Regions from separate parts of the Homo sapiens genome. Here region 1 is linked to region 2. Evidence: promoter capture Hi-C in 16 types of primary human blood cells and fetal thymus (Javierre and others, 2016). All regions are on one chromosome and are shown on one strand. Each heading gives the region's core, a stretch centred on a gene start or on the middle of the fragment in contact. The rest is flanking DNA. Distances are from core to core; before and after follow the strand shown.

The links. Contacts are between HindIII fragments. The CHiCAGO score rates a contact against its expected background, and 5 or more counts as called.
Region 1: a contact is called between a fragment that was not itself captured here and the fragment with the promoter of LGR6 in region 2, in 1 of 17 cell types (M2 macrophages). The highest score is 5.5, in M2 macrophages.

The regions. Positions count from the first base shown.
Region 1 is chr1:202,654,929-202,660,324 of GRCh38, reverse strand. The region is part of intron 1 of SYT2 (synaptotagmin 2); the gene reads left to right. Among named protein-coding and RNA genes, the nearest start is that of SYT2, 53 kb to the left of the region's middle. RefSeq lists an enhancer at 1,777-2,278 and a silencer at 2,812-2,971. The HindIII fragment of the contact is 4,274 bases long and covers 1-3,708 here.
Region 2 is chr1:202,190,818-202,196,167 of GRCh38, reverse strand. LGR6 (leucine rich repeat containing G protein-coupled receptor 6) reads right to left here and starts at 2,369. Exons shown (of 18, transcript NM_001017403.2): 1 at 1,967-2,369. The coding sequence starts at 2,178. RefSeq lists enhancers at 3,236-3,285, 2,980-3,783. The HindIII fragment of the contact is 23,199 bases long and covers 1-5,350 here.

The DNA.
Region 1 (5,396 bases), core at 322-2,821, 460 kb before region 2:
TTACAGATGAGGAAACTGAGGTTCTGACAAGTTATTGAACTTGCCCCATGTCATGCAGCTAAAAGGTAGCATAGTCAGGACCGAAGTCCAGCTTGTATATATCACACTGTACTACTCTGCTAGTTCCTTCTGCTTTTCTGGTGAGATGTTCCCCCTTGTGGCTAACTCAGGTCTCCCTTACTGTCCTCAGAACCCAGCCCCTTGTCCTGACCCCAGGAGGAGAGAGCTGTCACCTCAACTGGCAATGGGCATTGCTCCAGCCTGTGTTTTGATGGAAATACACGAAGCAGAGGGGACAGAGATTCTTGGGCAGAGAATCAGTTTGTTTTCATTGAAGGACCTCCGTGCCAAGCTCAGGTCTGGAGGTACCTCCTGCCTGGGACCCAGGGGGTTTAATGGCAGGGAGGAGCGGTCCTGCAGGTAGTAGCTCTGACCCTACCAGCCCAGCTCCCCACCCCTCACCCCCAACTTACATGTCAGCAGCTGTCACCTGCTCGACAGATGGGCTGACTGGCAGCACCTCTCCCTGGGCTGTACCCAGATTGGCTCGGCTATGCCCTGGCTGCCCCTAAGCTAGAACCATCTGTGCCCAAGAGAGACCCAACATTAGAGGAGAAGGGCAGATGGGGCTCTCGCAGCCCCTCCAGGTCATGGGGAGAGAGCTTAGGACCTTGTGATGCTCACCACCTGCTGTGCCCAAATTGGGCACCTGAGAGCCAGGACGGAGACTGCAGGGGCAGCTCTACTTCCCCTGCAAGGGGCTTTCAGAGTCGTTTCCAAGGCTAAAATGCCACTTACTGGCCACACACTGCCAGCCTGACCACACTTCTAAGCTATCTCTTTTTGCCGCTCTCTTTCTGTCAGCAAAGAGCCCCCAGTGTCACTCCACAGCAGTTGGAGTCCCGGGAAACCCTCTGCTTGGTGGAAGGGAGGGGCTGAGCTGGCAGGGATAGGTCTGCCCCTGGTTCCATTCAGCCCTTCTTCTGGATTTATTTTCACAGCTGATTGAACTCATCACCTTTTTAACGGGGAAAACAGAGCTGGACTAAAAAGTTCCCTTAAAATGAAACCCAAGATCAGAAGAACACGGACAGAGGTAGCATGTGTGCAGAATTAGTTTGCTGTGCATTGGGAAAGGGGAGGGGTCCCTTCCACCAGGGAAGGAGACAGGGTGGTCAATTTCATGCCCTTCTGAGAATGCTGCAGCAGATTTGGTATTTGATACTCCAAAGGGGGAGGGGTGTTGTCATTTTCCCTCCATCCCTCAAAAAACTCATTCAGAAAGAGAGACAGAGATTTTCTTGAGTCTAAAGGCCTCTGCCTCTATGTGAAGGAGGCTTATGCCGGATCCCCTAGGGACTGGGAAATTGAGAAGCTCTCCAATCTGGCAAGCATTTAAGTTCAATCAGTCTGTGTCCCAGCTTTTAGGAAGGGAAAATCGGCCACTTCATACTCCTTCTACCTAGACCTCCTGACTTCACCAGGAGCAGGGTTCAGGGGGCCACACACTGGCAGGGGCAAGAGGAGGGTGCCAGCACCCTGAATTGGGAGGGGTTGACACATTTTGAGGCAATCTGGCCACTCCTTTTTTAAAGCATTTGGCTGCGCATTTCCCTGGGAAATGAGGACTTTTAGGAAAAAAAAAAAAACTAATAAAAAAAATCCGACCACTGCATTGCAGTGCCTCTGAGATTGGTGCAGGCTGCTCAGCTGCTGTCTGAGGCACACACACGCCACACGTACTCACAGCTTGCACCTAGGCCCCCAGTCTTCTTACCCCCTCTGGCAGCTGCTGTCATAGCCTGGGGGCCAGAGGCGGGGAGTGGGGACTTCAGCCATCCTGCCACTCAGCTCTGGACTGGACCAGGGCAGGATCCAAGAGGCATCAGTAGAGGCAAAGGTAGGGATTTCTGACGCAGGGAGGGGACACGGTGGCTAGGCCTGGCTGGCTTCCTGGTCTGTGGCTCTGCTGCCTCTACTGCCCTTGCCGCACACTCTGGTTATTGCCACCATCCAGGGCACTTTTAGCTGAAACCTGCACAGTCCCACTCCTGGCACCATCCAGTGCAGATGCCCTCGTCATTTTTTCCTTTTTCTTTCCAAAAAAGGGGCCAGTCAGCTTTGTCATCCACCCACCTGCAGTCTCCCAGCTCACAGAGCCATGGAATATCAGAGCCGAAAGGACCCTAAGAGATCATCTAGTCCAATCCTTTTAGTTTATTAATAAGGAACCTGAGACCCAGAGAGGAAAGGTGACTTGCCCAAGGTCACTCGATGAGCTCTGGGCAGAGCTGATCCTACAGCGTGGGCCCAGAGGTGGCACAGAAAGTGCTTTGAAACATGCTGAGTGAACCCAAGTGAGAGGGTCCCCAGGAAGGGGCTGGTGACTTCCTGCTGATTGAGTAATGAATTCATTGATTAGCTGTTCAAGGCAGTCAAAGAGGAGATGCAGGATCAGCATTACGTCCCCACCAAACATACCCTGAGCTCTCCGCAGGGCCCTGACCCCGCTGTAGCCCTCTGCTTTCACCCTCCAGGAGCCCTCTACCCACCTGCTGGCTTCCAGTGCTTGTCAAGGACAGTGAGGGGATCCCAGGGCTGTTGTCTATGCTGACTGCACTCAGTTTCTGGACCCAGAAACTGAAACCAGGGGAAGGGGGAGGCCAAGAAAAGGGGGGTCCTTTACATCTCTCACCCCAGGAGCCAGGGTCCCTAAGGCGATCTCACAGCTCTCCAGTGTGAGGGAGGAGAGGGGAAATGCAGTGACCGCCACACCAACATTTTCCCGCTCACAGAGCTGTCTGACTGCTCCCTCCCTGACTTCTCCCAGAGCCTTGTGGTAGCCCCCAGTCACTGCATGCCTTCCCTTCAAATGCCTAAGAAGCCAGGAGCAGCTTCTGTCCAGGGTCCTGACCCCACCTCCCAGGGAAATGGACTTCAGATCTCACTGGGAGAAGAGAGAATCGTAGGTGGAGAAAGAGGCCCACTTTGGGTCTTGGGCATCTCTTCTAAAGGGTGCCCTTGAGACTCTTCTGGTGGGTTGCTCTAAAGACCGTGGTGAACGTGGCTCTTGTGTGGGTGTGCTTGGACTGGCTGTGCCAGAGACTGGACCTGATGAAAAGGCTTCTGTGTCATGACCATGATGAGGTTGGCTCAGCCTCAGTCTGACCTGGAATTTGGACAGTTGGCTCTTATGTAGGGTGTGCTGTGCTTCTCTGGACATCCCATTTTAAAAAGGACATACACAAAAATGAGCTGTGCCCGGAAGAATTTGGCCAGCAGGGCAGAGGCAATGGAAAACACTGGAACAAGAGTGGAAAGATCAGTTTGGATTAGACAAAGGCACCCAGGGAAGCCATGGTGGCTGCTTCCAGAGAGCTGGAGAGTGGTCCTGTATTCTGAAGGGCTGGACTCTGTCTGGCAGTGGAAGCCACAGGGAGAGAGATTTTAGTTCAAGATAGGAAGTCCACTGTAACTCTTAAAGATGTCCAAACAGTGGGAAGAGCATAATGTGGTGGGTTGCCTGTTGCTGGAATGTTCTAGCAGAGGCTGGTTAGGGAATTCCTGCATGAAGCAGGAGGTTGGGCTGGGGATAGCTAAGTGAAAACACAAAGGAAACTTACCTATGTCATGGCTGTGGCACGAGGTTCGGCCCTCCACATATGTGTGGTATGTCAAAGTTAACATGTGGTCCAGCTCATCTAAGCTTCGCACCATCCTTGCCAAAAAAGGCATTATTTCCTGCTTTTATAGATGTCACAATGAGCCTTAGAGAGGTTAAAGACACTTCCCTAAGGCTGTCCGCTTGGGAAGCAGCAGTTGGGACTTGAACCCAGGTCTGTCTGGCTCCTGATCCCTTGGTCTTTGCACTCTACCATCCTTGGCTCCAAGTTTCAGGCTCACAGGGCCCTGGGCTAAATGCCCAGACAGAGGCTTGCACCACTCCTGCTCTGAGTCTAAAATCAAGAAGATAGGGGAGCCGAAGCCCTCAGGGGCCGAGGATCTGGAGTCGGGAAATTTCTGTTTACCTTGGAGTCCAACAGCAATGACCAGCAGGGGACCCCAGAGTTCAGCCTCTGGCTTACCCTGACCAGGCTGATGCTCCGTGACTGACTGTTCTGATTGGAGCATGTGAGCGTTTGTGCCTGTGTGCATGCATGCAAGTGTGCATATGTGCACGTGTGTGTGTGTGTGTGTGCGTTCCAAAGCCCGCTTTCCCCCAGTGCTGCATGCTCACTCTTCACCCCCTTTCTTACAGGCACGGCCCGCTGTTCACCCACTCCTCTCTGCACACAATAAGCCACACTTTCTGGTCCTTATTTCTTGGCCTGGGGTCACACCTGTTGCTGCTCAGACAGGGAAGCCCCCCTCTCCTATCTGGCCCAGCACTTTTTGCCCCAAGCAGGCCCACTCGCTCCATGGTCACCTTGCGCATGATCACCCTTCCCTGTGTTCCCCCTGCCAGCATCACAGTGCAGCCCTGGACCAGTGGGAGGACATCAGAGATCCACATCTTCTGGTCTTTGCTACCCATGACACAGATGAAAGGTGACTGGCACTCCTGTTGTCCCTCAGACCCTCCCTCAGCCTCGCAAGCGCATGCCCATTTCTTTTGGAGAGACAGCATCTGGAAGTGAGAACACATCAAGCAGGATCGTGTAACCCCTGCCACTCACTGCAGGACCCTAGGGACATTGTTTAACTTCTCTGAGCCCCAGTGTCCTGTTCTGGAAAACAAGGATAGGAACACCTCTCCTGCAAGGGTCACGTAGGTTGGGCACATAAAGACCCAGCACAGTGCGTAAACGGTGGTGTTCCCTTGTGCCTGAATTAATGGTAGTGTCCCCTTGTCCCTGAAGACTCTCAGACACTTGATCAGCTGTTGGCTCAACAGTAGATAAAGAAAACGGAAGAACTTAAAGGACTCTGAGATTTAAAAAAACAACAACAACCCAGAACACAATGACATTGTAAAAATGAGGTATGTTTCAAGTCTGCTAGGGATGAGCCTGTAGTGAATAATTCTGGGCTTCCTCAAGGCCTGTCCTGGGCTCGCATCTCCTGCTGTCCGAAATGGCCATACCCTTCAGCTTCAACCTCCTTCTCCAAGCAGATAACTCACAAATGTGAATCTTCAGCCCAGACCCCTCCTCTAAGCCCACTTGCTCACCTATCTGCATGTTCAGCGACTCCACTTTGACACCTCTAAGGCATCTCAACACCCACCTCATGCTCTTACCCTCTTGTTCACACCTGGTCTGACTCTAGGAAATTATATCCCAGTGAGTGACACCCCCATTTGGCCCATAGTACAAGCCAGGAGCTTAGGAGTTGCTTTTAGTGCCCCTTTATCCTCTCCCCCAACCCAATACCAAAGTCAGTCACTTTTTTCTCTT
Region 2 (5,350 bases), core at 1,120-3,619:
CCCCACTGCTAAATTCCCCATATTGCCTCAGGACCCATCATACTCTTTATAGCTCCCACTCCCTCTCTTCTCTCCACAACTCTCAGAAGCATCCCCTGAGTCTTGAGAGAGAGGGGCTTTCTCAATCCCCAGGAAGACACAGACCAGCTCAGAAAACCCCACCTCCACTGAACCCAAATGCAGACTTCACAGCTCCGAGGGAATTGTGGCAAGCTAGTGGGAAAAACTTCTGCCAGCATGGATGGTAGGATGCTTGAATTCCAAAGGTGACAGTGTACCTCCTTCCCCAAGTCCTTCTAGAAAAAGGGTCATTAACCAGTCTAGGAAGACTTAATGCTGGGAAAGGAAGCTCTGGAAGGCCTTATCTCCCCTGCCCCTTCAACCCAGGCAAGGGACCTTCCTTCAGCTCACCCAGAGAAAGGCTCCACAGAAGTCACATCTAAACTCTTTAGCCACAGGACCCTGTCTTCAAATGAACCAATGTCACATACTCCCAGGATAGAAAACTGCTGAAAGAGGGGCTGGCCTGTGTGTAGGGTGGGGCCGGAGCCTGCCCTGCTTTGCCAGATGCTGAGCGCCCAGGCTCTGTGCAGTTGGTACCTTTATTCCCATGATTGCCTCTGCCGTCACCTACTGCACTGTGAAGGATTCCATTTGTCCTTCTAGATGGACATTATTTTTCTCTTCCCACTCCCTTACCTGGCCCACAGCCTGTGCCTTTTGGAGTGGAGGGGGACATCCCAACCTGGGGACAGGGACATTTGGAGAGGAGCCCCATGAAGAGTTGCCCTCTGGGACCCTCTACCTCCCACCAGGACACTCCCAACACTGAGCATCTTTAGTTCCACAAATTCTTGCTAGGCCCCTATAAAGATTCACCCAGCCTCCTCTTCCTCTAAGCTCCCATGTGCTGGAACCCCAAAGCCATAAGGAGCCTCTCTCAGGCCAGAAGGAACTCTGGGATCCTAGCCCTCAGCAGAAGGCCCCACCAGGCTTTCCCACCTGCTCCCAGCTCCTCTGAGGAAGTTGATAGAGCCTGCAGAGCTGGGCTGGAGGAGGTTTCCTTGCCCCAGAGCGGGGCTGGGGGTGCAGGTGGGTGGCCTGGAATGTGCTCTCTCACCCTCCTCCTGCCCAGGTGGTGAGCAGCCAGAGCCCCCAGCCCTCCAGCTCTGAGGGGAAGCTCCCATGAGCCAGACAGACAGGACAGCTGCCCCCAGTAGGGTCCCCTTCACGCGCCATCTCACCCCAACTCAGACGCTAAAAATGGTTCTCTGGTTTTCAGCCTCGGCGCCTGCCCACAAATTAGTGTCTCCAACACAGCCTCTTGGGACATGACTTTAGGGAGGCCCCTGGGGGAGCCAGGAGGCCCCAGTGAAGGGAGATGGTGCTGGCAGAGTCCCTTTCTGAGGAGACAAGAGTGGATAAGGCCCCCCTCCCAGCTTCTAGGAAACCCGCCCCCCCCGCCCCCACGAAGGCCACCCAGCCTCAGTGTGACAGCCCTGTTGTCCTCACCATGGCAGAAGAACAGACATTATTTCCACCCTACTGGGGCACGCTCCCCTCACCTCCACCTCCAGTTCTGTCAGCTTTACCCTCAGCCACCATCCCGGGCACTGCTCTGCTAGAAGAGAATGCAGCAACAGGAGATGGAGCAGCCAGCCCCGCGCCCTCCCGCTCAGGGTCCAGAACCCACCTCGCCAAGCCTGGGCTCCCATAGTCAGCCCACAAGCACGGAGGCCAATGGGGAAGCCAAGTCAGGGAAGCCCGGTCTCCCTGCTCGCCTGGTATTTAGTCTCAGACTCTTCTCCCCTCCCCAGTCCCGCAACGGTCAACTTGGAAGGGGGCAAACCCTCTCCGGGATGCCCATGCCCCAGGGCACCAAGCAAGCAGGTGCCCTGCTGAGGCCGGGACTGGGCGCTAGCCAGCAGCCCGCAGGACCAGGCGGGGACAGGCGGGCAGTACTCACAGGTAAGCCGTCAGGGGGTCCAGGTCCCCCGGAACGGCGGACAGCCCGAGCTCAGAGCAGTCGGCAGACAGCATGATGCCGTCCTCCTGGCAGTGGCAGGGGGCCGGGCAGGCGGTGGGCCCCGGGCCGGGCTGGGGGGCGCCGCCGGCCCTCCGGGAAGCGCACAGCGCGGCGCAAAGCCATAGCGCCCGGAGCCCCGGCGGGCTGGGCATCTCGGCGGTCGGGCTACTGGGGCACCTGGCGGCCGGGCGCGGACGCACGGCGCGATGGCCGCAGCTGCTTCCTCCCGGTCCCGGCGGGCTGCACCGTCGGTGGGGACCGCCCCAGGGGCTCTATTGGGCGGCGGCGGCGGCGGTGGGAGCGCCGGGACGGTGCAGTCAGAGAGGGGCAGGCATTGTTGAGTGATCTTCGTTATTCAGTTTCACAGGCTGGGCTTGGCAAGGGAGGGAGACCCAGCCGGAGGAGGAGTCAAGGAAACTTTCTACACTGCGGCTCGCTCCTCTTCCCTCCTTCCTTCGGAGCTGGCAGGAATTTCATCCAGGAAAGAAAAAAAAAAAAGGAAGAAAGCAAAGAAACCCAAGCGAGCAAAGCTCAGCCCGTCAGAGACCTGCATTTGTTTGGATAGGGTGTCCCAGGGCCTTGGCCGCAGGGCTGGGGACCCTCTTGCCTTTGGGGACAGCCACGAGGTCACATGGGACCCAGAGGAGGTCTCTGAAAGAGGCCTTGGGGCTCCCATTGCCCCTCATGCCTCCACCACGTTTCACACTGCAGGAAACTGAGACCCAAGAGGCAAAATGATTTGTTCAAGGTGACACAGCTGATGGGACATCCCCAGAGCTGGAACTCGTCCACCCTCCCTGGCCTGTCTGCTAGGACAGGAGAGAGGGGAGTGAGGGGCTACCCTGGAAGAGGCCAGGCTGCGGAGGGTTCCACTGCAGGCTGGGATGACCCGACGGTGGGCAACCAGGAGCAGTCTCCTCACTGAGAGGCCGGGCCTTGACTCCAAAGAAACGGGTGTGGAGTTACACCCGCTGAGTGCACCCTGGGTGGAAATGCACTCCTGCAGCCTCTGTCAGGTTTACGGCCTGGGGACCACCTTGATCCCTGCTCCCAGGACCTCGGGAGTCTGAGGGACTGTGGGCAGCTCAGCTGGTTGTCAGAGCCCACCTCAAAGTAAGCGGATTGGTGCCACCTGGAGGCCGGGTGCTGCACCTGCAGCTCAGCCACCCTGAGGCTGGAATCCCACCAAGTGGCTGACCTGGGCCGGCCCCAGAGCCCTGGAGAGCAAAGGGCATGGTGGTTAAAACTGAGGTCAATCCCTGTTCTCTCCTTAGACCATAGTGAGCTGGCTGTGCTTCCTTCATGCAGCCTCTTGCTCTCTCTGGTCTCTCCCATGCTGAGCCAAGCCCCCGCGCAGAGCTAGAGCAGGCTGTGGGCCCCCCTCCTTCCTTTTTTTGCCCTATCTCCCCATGGTCCAGCCAGAGGGTATACTAGAAACCTGGGACCTCAGAGGCATCCAGGATTTCTTCCACCCTGTCTTTCCACATGCCAGGATCCTCTCATCAACACCTCTCCACTCTCCCAATAACCTCCCAGGGCTAGAGGGGCTGCATAGCTGGACCAAGAAATGAGCAGACCTTGACCCTAGGCCTCCAGTTGGTGCCATGGCGCTGAAAGTAGAAGACGAGCCTCCGCTCTCGCTCTCCCTCTCCCTCTCCCCTCTTTCCACGGTCTCCCTCTGATGCCGAGCCGAAGCTGGACTGTACTGCTGCCATCTCGGCTCACTGCAACCTCCCTGCCTGATTCTCCTGCCTCAGCCTGCCGAGTGCCTGCAATTGCAGGCGCATGCCGCCACGCCTGACTGGTTTTCGTATTTTTTGGGTGGAGACGGGGTTTCGCTGTGTTGGCCAGGCTGGTCTCCAGCTCCTAACTGCGAGTGATCCGCCAGCCTCGGCCTCCCGAGGTGCCGGGATTGCAGACGGAGTCTCCTTCACTCAGTGCTCAATGGTGCCCAGGCTGGAGTGCAGTGGCGTGATCTCGGCTCGCTACAACATCCACCTCCCAGCAGCCTGCCTTGGCCTCCCAAAGTGCCGAGATTGCAGCCTCTGCCCGGCCGCCACCCCGTCTGGGAAGTGAGGAGCGTCTCTGCCTGGCCGCCCATCGTCTGGGATGTGAGGAGCCCCTCTGCCTGGCTGCCCAGTCTGGAAAGTGAGGAGCGTCTCTGCCCAGCCGCCATCCCATCTAGGAAGTGAGGAGCACCTCTTCCCGGCCGCCATCCCATCTAGGAAGTGAGGAGCGTCTCTGCCCGGCTGCCCATCGTCTGAGATGTGGGGAGCGCCTCTGCCCTGTCGCCCCGTCCGGGATGTGAAGAGCGTCTCTCCCCGGCCGCCCCGTCTGAGAAGTGAGGAGACCCTCTGCCTGGCAACCGCCCTGTCTGAGAAGTGAGGAGCCCCTCCGCCCAGCAGCCGCCCCGTCTGAGAAGTGAGGAGCCCCTCCGCCCGGCAGCCACCCCGTCTGGGAAGTGAGGAGCGTCTCCGCCCGGCAGCCACCCCGTCCGGGAGGGAGATGGGGGGGTCAGCTCCCCGCCTGGCCAGCCGCCCCGTCCGGAAGGGAGGTGGGGGAATCAGCCCCCCGCCCGGCCAGCCGCTCGGGAGGTGAGGGGCGCCTCTGCCCGGCCGCCCCTACTGGGAAGTGAGGAGCCCCTCTGCCCGGCCAGCCGCCCCATCCGGGAGGGAGGTGGGGGGGTCAGCCCCCCGCCTGGCCAGCCGCCCCGTCCGGGAGGTGAGGGGCGCCTCTGCCCGGCCGCCCCTACTGGAAAGTGAGGAGCCCCTCTGCCCGGCCAGCCGCCCCGTCCGGGAGGTGTGCCCAACAGCTCATTGAGAACGGGCCAGGATGACAATGGCGGCTATGTGGAATAGAAAGGCGGGAAAGGTGGGGAAAAGATTGAGAAATCGGATGGTTGCCGTGTCTGTGTAGAAAGAGGTAGACATGGGAGACTTTTCATTTTGTTCTGTACTAAGAAAAATTCTTCTGCCTTGGGATCCTGTTGATCTGTGACCTTACCCCCAACCCTGTGCTCTCTGAAACATGTGCTGTGTCCACTCAGGGTTAAATGGATTAAGGGCGGTGCAAGATGTGCTTTGTTAAACAGAGGCTTGAAGGCAGCATGCTCGTTAAGAGTCATCACCACTCCCTAATCTCAAGTACCCAGGGACACAAACACTGCGGAAGGCCGCAGGGTCCTCTGCCTAGGAAAACCAGAGACCTTTGTTCACTTGTTTATCTGCTGACCTTCCCTCCACTATTGTCCTGTGACCCTGCCAAATCCCCCTCTGCGAGAAACACCCAAGAATGATCAATTAAAAAAAAATAATAAATAAATAA